2 separate regions of the Homo sapiens genome follow, and region 2 is linked to region 1. Evidence: promoter capture Hi-C in human tissues and cell types (Jung and others, 2019). All regions are on one chromosome and are shown on one strand. Each heading gives the region's core, a stretch centred on a gene start or on the middle of the fragment in contact. The rest is flanking DNA. Distances are from core to core; before and after follow the strand shown. Region 1 holds the start of CUL1 (cullin 1). Region 2 has its middle 23 kb from the start of GHET1.

What was found. The method cuts DNA at HindIII sites, captures the fragments that hold promoters and counts their contacts. A contact is called where the count stands out against the background at its distance.
Region 2: a fragment that was not itself captured here is called in contact with the fragment with the promoter of CUL1 in region 1 in 1 of the 25 tissues and cell types used here (heart left ventricle).

The regions. Positions count from the first base shown.
Region 1 is chr7:148,695,456-148,700,350 of GRCh38, reverse strand. CUL1 (cullin 1) reads right to left here and starts at 1,448. Exons shown (of 22, transcript NM_003592.3): 1 at 1,322-1,448. RefSeq lists silencers at 444-543, 844-1,873, 2,534-2,593 and enhancers at 421-1,146, 2,214-2,263. The HindIII fragment of the contact is 3,848 bases long and covers 725-4,572 here.
Region 2 is chr7:148,961,857-148,966,955 of GRCh38, reverse strand. It overlaps RNY4. Among named protein-coding and RNA genes, the nearest start is that of GHET1, 23 kb to the left of the region's middle. RefSeq lists enhancers at 1,960-2,459, 2,460-2,961. The HindIII fragment of the contact is 4,639 bases long and covers 358-4,996 here.

The DNA.
Region 1 (4,895 bases), core at 199-2,698:
CTGCGAGGCGTTAAGCTATGCTTAGGTCCTAGAAGCTCATGGCTTGAAGTAAAAAAGGAATCTAGTTCCTCTTCTGCCGCTTCGTTAAGTGCATTCCAAAAAGTGTGATCGTTTACTCCACTCAGAACTTTTGACGATTTTAATGCTACTACAGGAAAGAGCAATTACACAGAGCAAACAAATATTTAAGTAGACTGCAATTCAGTATTTGCGCACTTACCACTAACCCCTACTACGAACCAGAAGCAACCAAGAGTGACCCAATCGGAAAAGAGAATCCTCTTTTTGGCAAAGCCAGCCAGGGAGAAAACCCTAACTTTGGGGATTCATTTCAAGGAATGTCTACAAGCATTCCTCTCTTTCTTATCTTATGTCTGCGCTACACAATACTGCACGGGTGGCAGAAACGGGGGTCTTTCAGATCTTAAGGGAAAAAAAAGCGACGACCCCCGAGTCTGGGGACCCCAAGTCCCAGCGGCCTGGCGGGCGCACGGCTACCCTCAGGGTCAGGGCGCGCGCTCCCGTTGGGACCGGGGGCGCGCCGAGGCCGCAGCGCAGGGCCCGGCCCGACTAGCGAGCGATAGGCGGGCGCCGGGGGGCTCTGTCCGGTTCGGCCGCCGGGCTAGCATCCCTGCGCGCATGCCCCGGCCCGCTCTCCCAGGAGAACGGGGCAAAAGGGCGACTGTTACCCAATAATAGCGCCCTGCACGTTCGCAACAATGCAGGCGGGGAACCCGAGAGCCGCGGGCAGGGAACCGGAAAGCGAGAGAGCCCGGCTCCGCGGCTGCTCCTGCGCTTGAGCCCAGAGCTCACAGGGGAACACGCGTCGGCCGGAAAGCAGCGCCGGGAAGAAGCGTGGGCGCGAGGGGGCAAGGGCACGGGTCCCGGCGTCCCGCGGAGGTCGCCTCACCAGGCGAGGCGCGGACGCCCGAGCCGCCCCGGGCCACACGTCGGCCCACCCTCCGAGAACCCAGCCCGGTCGCGGCGGGGAAAGGGGCCGGCGCCACCAGGCCGCCGCCTCCAGGCGCGATGAATCGTGCTTTTTCCCAGTGCGTAGTCCAGGCCTGGCCGCCCCGGCCCGTCCGGGGTGACTCAGGGCCCGGCCCCGCTCGCTCCTCTGCCACCTTCGGCGTCCTCCGCCCACGAGTCCCCCGGCCCGGCCGCCATTCTGCCCGGCCGCGTTTCGGCGGCTCAGGCCTCGCCAGGCGCCTGGTTTCGGCCGTCGCGGCCCGAGTCACTGCGACACCGCGGCTCGGGGCCGGGCCTGCGCCGCCGCCGCCGCCGCCACCTCCTCTCGGCCCCGGCGGCTGCCGACACTCACCCGCATCTCTGTGGTGCCCCAAAGGCTCCCGCGACGCCTCCGCCTGGTCCCTGGGCCTGGGCCCCGGCGAAAGCCCCGTCCCGCCAAGGTCTAGCTGCGTCCCTCAGCTACCGGGGCTGCCCCGCCTGGAGCTGCGTGCGACACGGCGCCCGCCTCCTCCTCCTCCCCTGCCCGCCCGGCCCTCCTCCTCCCGCCGCCGCCGCCTGCACCACGCAACCTCCGCCCTCTCGCCTTCCCTGCGCGGCTCCCCGCCCTCTCGGCCTCACCGGCTCCGGCGACCGCGGGGGAGAAGCTGTTGGGGGAGGGCCGGAACGCACCGCCATCGGCGTCCGGGGCGGGGGAGCCGGGAAACCGTCGTCGCCATCGCCCCGCCAGCCCGAGGCGCGGGAGGGGCCCGGAAAGCTCCCTCCCGCCCGCTCGCCGCTGCCGGCGGCCCCGGGGGCGCCCCTTCCGCGGCCGAGGCCCCCGCTCGCGTGGGGAAGCTTCTACCTGCGAGCCTGCGGCCCCTGCCCCCGGCACCCGAGACATCCCCGACCCGGCGCGCCGGATTCTCTGCCAGGTTTTACAGCCTCCCTCGCCTTGGGACCGCCGCGGAGGACCCGTTCCCGCCACTTCGGACCTCGCGAGCGGGGCTGAGCTGCTTGGGTCGGGGACACCACCAGCCTCTGGAGAAACGGCCCGAAGCACCCCGAAGAAGAGGGGGTCCCAGTCCCCTGCCCCTCCCTTGTGCGCACCCCCACCCCCAGCTTGCCTGGAACCTGACTCCACACCTTTGTCGACCGGGACAGGGACTGGGGGTTGCACCCCAGATCAGAAAGTCAGAGGTGGCCCTCCGAATCGGCGCGGACTTCCGAGGAACCTCAGCCAATTCTCGACCCCCTTACCACCTGCAAGGCCTTAGGAATCGGCTCCAGAAAGCTCGAGCTTATCTGCGTGTTTCGTTTTAAAAATCACTTCTAAGATAAAACCTAACTAGGCTTTCCCCTTCAGACTTTCAGTAACTCCTGTTTGGCAAATTTTGACATTCACTCTATCCTTCGTCTTTGTAAGGACATATCAAGACTTAGAAGGCTTTGATTACACATACGGATGGCATGAGTCGTGATATAAAATAGTATTGTTTTCACGTGTACTTCGAAGTCATCTCATTTGAAATTAACTGTCATAATTGACTATTTGGAATATTCAACCTAAATACTACCCGCTGCTGTGGTGACGGGGGGTGGAGGAAGCGTGGTGGAACCCCAACACCTAGTGAGGGGTGGCTGATTAATACCACGGCTCACAACATAACAGAGCGGCTCATTCCATGAACAACCCCGGGGGGATTTCGAATTCTATCATCTGGGCAAAAGATGTGATGAGTGTAACTTCCTGTTTTCTCCAAACTAAAACACTACGCAGATTCCTGTACCGCTCTGGGACAGAAATCCTCAGCCAGAGCAGAGGCCGTCCCCAGAGTCCACACTGTTTCCTGCATAAAGTGGGTTATCTCAGAAGAAACATCCCACTGGTCTGTGTGATCCTTCTATTGAAATGTGGTCTTTTATCTACATCTAAGTATCTCTAGAAGTAATGCGTTTGTATGTACTTGTCACTCAGATATGTAATCCCTTAATTTGTGCGGGGTTTTGGGGTGTGAAAAATTCTTGGTTTATATCCTACACTTTTAAATAACCTCGTCAAAACTTACATGTATTTAACACCTTTTTTTGTGAGCACATGGTAAGGTTGGAAGTAAAAATGGAAGGTTTATCCCTGTGGCCCATGTTTTCCAGTGTACCTATGTGGGGTTTTAAAAAAATGTCCCAATTTCTTCCTTTTACTGGAGACTGCGTTTTTTAGACAACAGCTTATCTTCCTATTCCCTAACCAGTCTTCTCCAATCTTACCATTCAATATAGCCTCCTTTTCTGTGACTTCCTCCAGCTGAATAGAAGGGCTGAGTGGGTCAACCTTCCCTGTATTGTTTGTTTCCTCCACCCTCTCTTTTTCCTTAATAGCAGTATTTGGTCCACCCACACCACCCTCTCTCTTCTCACTGCCTCCATTCCTGGTTCTTAACTCCTTTCTATTCTTTACTCTCCACCTGCCTACACGATCATTCTTAGCAGCAAATTTATTCCATCGACTTTTACGTCCACTTAACATCCAGATTGCATTTACTTTGCGCAGATAACCTTGCCGCCTACCTCACAAGTCAAGGCCACCTGCTGCTCTCTTTCTACTTTAAAACATCCTTCCTCCATCTTTACCCCCCAACTCAGCAAAATTGATGTCTCTCTCGGATGACCCAAAGTTTGGAGGGATAATTAATTTGATAGATGTCAGAATCAAAGTTCAAAACAGTCTCAACAGGCTACAACATTAGGCCAAAAGCAATGAAATAAAATATAACTTTCAAATCTAAATATGATGTACTAGCTGGAAAAGCCCAAGTTTTAGATTTTAGACCTTGGTTTGTATCTAGTTACCCAAATTTGAGTCATATCCAGTAACTCAAATTACTATCTTTTGCTCTAGTAAGGTCAACTGTTAATTTGAGATAAAAATACCTACTTCATAAGAGTGTGAAGAGTAATTTATTTATAATTCCCACGTAATTCGTGGAACATTCACCAACCATTAGTTCCCCTCCCTTCCTCATCGTCCACAAAGTGGTTGTCTCTGTTGCCATTCATAACACATTCTTTAATTCATACAGACCTGGAAACAGACTCAAAATCCTGGCCCGTTCACCTTGTATCCCAGAGCTGTCACCATCGTAGAGAAATCGTTTGCCTCTTTTGGGTCAGTCATTATCATCATCATACCCATTTTTTCAATGAAAAAACCTAAGGCTCAGAGATGTTAGGCAATTTGCTCCAAATCACTCAGCCTGATCAGTGGCATAACCTGACCCAGTGACTCATGATTCTGTGTATATCCACTCCTTTACTAAGATATTCTCCCACACTTATGTTGGTCCTTTAGCCTTCTAAATGCTTTTCCTGGTTCTTATCTCTTTATCCTTCCACTTGTGTCCTGACTGATGGCAGATTATTCCTTCTAAACTGATACCTTCATCATTATAATTTTGTCCTTTCAAGCTTCAGTGGTTCCATATTGTTTATAGTGTTCAATCCAAATTTGGACCTGGCACTTAAGGTTTACCAGATCTTGTCCAAACTTGCATTTCCAAATTTATTTCCTGCCACTTCCCAGAAGGAACTCTCAATGCCATCCGGTCCTGTTGGTTGTACTCACTGGCCCACAGATGAGCTGTGAGTCGCCATTTATGAGGGCCTCCTTCAGTTGTTCCCTTAACAGATACCATTTCCCACTTCTTTCCTCCATCTCCAAATCATGCTCACTTTTCAAGATCCAGCTCACACCCCCTCCCAGGAAGCCCACCTTACACCTTCTACCCAAGCTTTGTGATCTCTCCCTGATTGCCTGTTCACATGTGCCTTTAAACTAGGTGGTCTGTGCTGTGGGGTGAGAGACAATTTCCTAAGGTTCACCTGCCCCCTCAGCACTGTGCCCAAAGAACACTGAAGCAGATTCCAAGCAAATTTGCTTACTACTGAAATGA
Region 2 (5,099 bases), core at 1,428-3,927, 270 kb before region 1:
GGGGGCGCCAGAGGCCCAGCGGTCGTTCGGCCCTGTCAGCTGGTTGACACCGAGGGCCAGGATTGCGCTCGTTTTTAAGTATAATATTTTAGGAACGCCGTGACCCCACCCACCTTGGCTGACTGACTTGTGAGATATGACCAAAAACAATGAATCGACATGGAGAAATTGGAACGCTTGCACTCTGCTGGTGGGAACAGAAAATGGTGCAGCCGCTGTGGAAAACAGTCTGGCAGTTCCTCAAAAAATTAAAAATAGCATTGCCGGCTGGGCGCGGTGGCTCACGCCTGTAATGCCAGCACTTTGGGAGGTCGAGGTGGGCGGATCACGAGGTCAGGAGATTGAGACCATCCTGGCTAACACGGTGAAACCCCGTTTTTACTAAAAATACAAAAAATCAGCCAGGCGTGGTGGCGGGCGCCTGTAGTCCCAGCTACTCGGGAGGCTGAGGCAGGAGAATGGCGTGAACCCGGGAGGCGGAGCTTGCAGTGAGCCGAGATCGTGCCACTGCACTCCAGCCTGGGCGACAGAGCAAGACTCCGTCTCAAACAAACAAAAAATTAGCATTACCTTATTTATGATTCACCAATTCCACTTCTGGGTGTGAACCCGAAAGAATCTGGCCGGGCACGGTGGCTCAAGCCTGTAGTCTCAGTGCTTTGGGAGACTGAGGTGGGAACATAGCTTGAGCTCAGGAGTTCGAGACCAGCCTGGGCAACATAGTGAGACCCCCGTGTCTGCAAATAATTTTAAAACTTGGCTGGGCACGGTGGCTCATGCCTGTAATCCCAGCACTTTGGGAGGCCGAAGCGGGTGGATCACTTGAGGTCAGGATTTCGAGACCAGCCTGGCCAACATGGTGAAACCTCAAATCTACTAAAAATACAAAAATTAGCTGGGCATGGTGGCACATGCCTGTAGTTCCAGCTACTTCGGAGGCTGAGACAAGAGAATCACTTGAACCTGGGAGGCGGAGGTTGCAGTGAGCCATGATAGCACCGTTGCATTCTAGTCTGGGTGACAGAGCAAGACCTTGTCTCAAAAAAAAAAAAAAAAAAAAAAAGAAAAAAGAAAAAAAGACTTGAAAGCAGGGACTAGAAGGGAAGATATGTGTACACCTGTGTTCATAGCAGCATAGTTCACAATTAGCCATAAGGTAGAAGCAACCAAGTACCCATCGAGGGACATGAATGAGTAAACGCAATGTGGTATGTACAGTCATCTACAGTCGTCCCTCGGTATCTGTGGGCAGTGGTTCCAGGACCCCTGCTGGATCCCAAAATCCATGGTTGCTTAAGCCCCTCATAAGATGGTGTAGAATTGCCGGGCGTGGTGGCTCACACCTGTAATCCCAGCACTTTGGGAGCCTGAGGTGGGTGGATCACGTAAGGTCAGGAGTTCGAGACCAGCCTGGCCAACATGGTGAAACCGTTTCTACTAAAAATACAAAAATTAGCCGGGTGTGGTGGTGGGTGCCTGTAATCCCAGCTACTCAGGAGGCTGAGGCAGGAGAATCACTTGAATCCAGGAGGTGGAGGTTGCGGTGAGCCGCGATCACACCATTGTACTCCCAGCCTGGGTGACAAGAGCAAAACCTCCGTCTCAAAAAAAAAAAAAGATGTAGAATTTACATATAACCTATGCACATCCTCCCATATACTTATAAATCATCTCTAGATTACAAGTACAGATTTAGATAATACCTAATACGATGTACATGATATAGAAATAGTTATTATGCTGTATTCTTTAATGAATAATGACCCTGAAAAAGTCTATGTTCAGAACAGACAAAACTATCTATTTTTTCCCCCTAATATTTTCAGTCAGCGGTTGGTTGAATCCATGAATGTGGAACCTGCAGATGCGGAGGGCCAACTATCTTTTTTTTTTTTTTTGAGATGGAGTCTCATTCTGTCACCTAGGCTGGAGTGCAATGGCACAATGTGGGCTCATCGCAACCTCCGCCTTCCAGGTTCAAGCGAGTCTCCTGCCTCAGCCTCCAGAGCAGCTGGGATTACAGGCACCCACCACCATGCCTGAAAAATGTTTTCTATTTTTAGTAGAGACAGGGTTTCACCATTGGCAGGCTGGTCTCGAACTCCTGACCTCAAGTTATCCACCTGCTTTGACCTCCCGAAGTGCTGGGATTACAGACGTGAGCCACCGCATCTGACCCTAACTATCGTTTTAAAGGCACACTTGTCCCCCTCCCTGTTTCCTCCTAAAACAGCGAGCCGGCATCCCTGCCTCCTCCTAGGCGTTCTTATTTGGTGTAGGATGGTGATAAAGCCACCCCATTCCTTTCCTTACACAGAATCCCTCCCCTTTTGGGGTCGGCATTTTCTTGGACAATCAAATGTTCTTGGAGCTGCTGACTGCCTCAGGGATCTTTTTTTACAAGAAATAGTGGTGATCATGATTGGGCTACAACAGCTGCTGGGGTGGTCCTGATCCCTGGGGCCAGGACTGGGAGGACTGAGAAATGTGGCCAAGGCATCAAGGCTCAGGGGTCGCACCCTCAGCCATTCTTGAGACCCTCTCACCAGCAGCACAAGGCGATGCTGCCTCTCAGGCCCAGGGCGGCTGCCCAGGAATCAGCTTTCTGTGGCCGCTTTTCTTCCTTTTCCAGGAGGCCTTTGTTGTTAACCCTTTGGTGCATCAGGAAGTTGATCATTCCATTCCGTAGAGACGGAAGCAAACAAGGAAAGGAAAAAAATAACTCTGATGCTGAAACAATGTTGATGAAAGCTTAATTGAGAAGTTTCTTGGAGAGACTCCACCGAACAGAATCGGTTGAGCAGAAAATTGAAACAGACACAAACACTGTCTGTTTTGGATCGGACTGGTTTTTATTCTGGAGATAAAGTGCAGCAAGGATTGTGAATAAATATGAGGGCTGGGGGACACAGCGCTGTCAAGTTAACCGTTCTGTGCAAACGCAAAGCTGGCGGACAGGGGCCTCCTTGTTTGAGGACAACGGCCCCGACTGAGGCTCTGGGCTGACAGGAAACGCACCTATAGTCCCAGCTACTTGGGAGGCTGAAGCAGGAAAATTGCTTAAACCTGGGAAGTGGAGGTTGCAGTGAACCGAGATCGCACCACTGCACTCCAGCCTGGGCAACAGACTGAGATTCTGGCTCAAAAAAAAAAAAAAGTACATTCAGGCTGGGCACAGCGGCTAACGCCTGTAATGCCAGCACTTTGGGAGGCCAAGGCAGCAGGATAACTTGAGCCAAAGGAGTTGGAGACCAGCCTGGGCAATATAGTGAGACCCTGCCTCTACAAAAAAGGAAAAAAAATAACTGGATATGGTGGCATGTGTCTGTAGTCCCAGCTACTCAAGAGGCTAAGGTAGGAGGATTGCTTGAGCCCAGGAGTTTAGAGCTACAGTGAGCTATGATTGTGCTACTGTACTCCAACCTGGACAACACAGTAAGACCCTAAAAAGAAAAGGAGGGGGACATTTATGTAAGAATGCTTTCCCCCCAACATGAATATTTTGTAAAGTTAGCTTGTTTGATTGAAATACAAAATCAAATGGTAAAAAGCCAGTCAAATTTAGCAGTGGGGGGTTGTATACCAACTTTAGTGACACTAATGTTAATAAGTTCTGATAACCCACTACCATCGGACCAGCCAGAAAAACTGCTTTCACTTTCATTTTATAAATCTCTGAAGTGGCTACTCTAAATAAGTTAGGATGAGTTATTTTAAGAATTCTCCAAAAAGTCTGATATTATATGACCCCTACAAAATAATACTGCAAAAAGCCATACATTATCTGATTATCTTCCTTTAATTTTAAATAGCTTAATGCAAACTGATATTCAAAATAAATGTAGTTGCATGATGGGAAATAGACGTAAATTACCAAATGGAAGCCTCTTGTCCTTTGCAAATACCTGAAGACATTCATGAATCAAAGAAAAGTAAATGAACATATTTGTGTCAAATGCCCAGCAATAGAAACGTTGAACATTTAATGTCAACAAAATGAGCTTTGGTGTTTTTTTTTTTGTCGTCTCCCTGCCTGTGATCTGCAAAATGCCTTCCTGAATCAAGGCAGCAGCAGATGGCAGCAGTGCCCAGAGCATGCACTTTCCATCCACTTTCCCACGGAGCCTGGACCAGAGAACTCCTCACCCACGAACACACTGTTTTCACATCACCCACAAACACGCTGTATTCACATCACCCACGAACACGCTGTGTTCACACTGGTTGTTTCCTGGGACTTTTCCTGATAATCCTTAATAGTTCCTATAAATCACATGGGTACGCCAGGTTTAATATGCTCAGATCTCTCACCTTTCAGACAGGTTGCTGCTGGCATTGAGAAGTTGCCATAATCCTGAAAACAGCCTTTTACCAATGGTTTTATCAATGAAAGCCAAATCCCTCTCAATGATTAGATATAAGCACTCTCACTGAGTTTAGTAAGAAATCCCACATTAACCAGAAAAAAAAGGAATGAAAAGGATTAGAAAGTGATCAATAAACCTTAACTATTATTATCTTTGCCTATCAAATCTCAATTTTCCTGTTTTAAGTCATTCATATTTTAACATACCAAATGTTAAAGTATTAGGTTGGTGCAAAAGTAATTGTGGTTTTTGCCATTAGTTTTAATAATAATTGGAAGGTTTCAACTGACAGAAGAAAATGTATGTTCAAGATTATGATTAACTTGAATGCTTAGGAAATGTCACTTTCTTTCTTTCTTTTCTTTCTTTTTTTTTTTTTTGAGATGGAGTCTTGCCCTGTTGCCCAGGCTGGAGTGCAGTGGCCTGATCTCGGCTCACTGCAACCTCCTCCTAGGTTCAAGCCATTCTCCTGCCTCAGTCTCTCAAATAGCTGGGACTACAGGCACATGTCACCATGCCCGTCTAATTTTTGTATTTTTAGTAGAGACGGGGTTTCACTGTGTTTTCCAGGCTGATCTCGAACTCCTGACCTCAAATGATCCACTCTCCTCGGCCTCTCAAAGTGCTGGGATTACAGGCATGAGCCACCGCGCCTGGCTGGAAATGTTACTTTCTAAGGCATAACATTCCCCACCTTCATATGTATTGAGCTCAGCTAATCCCAGGAATTTT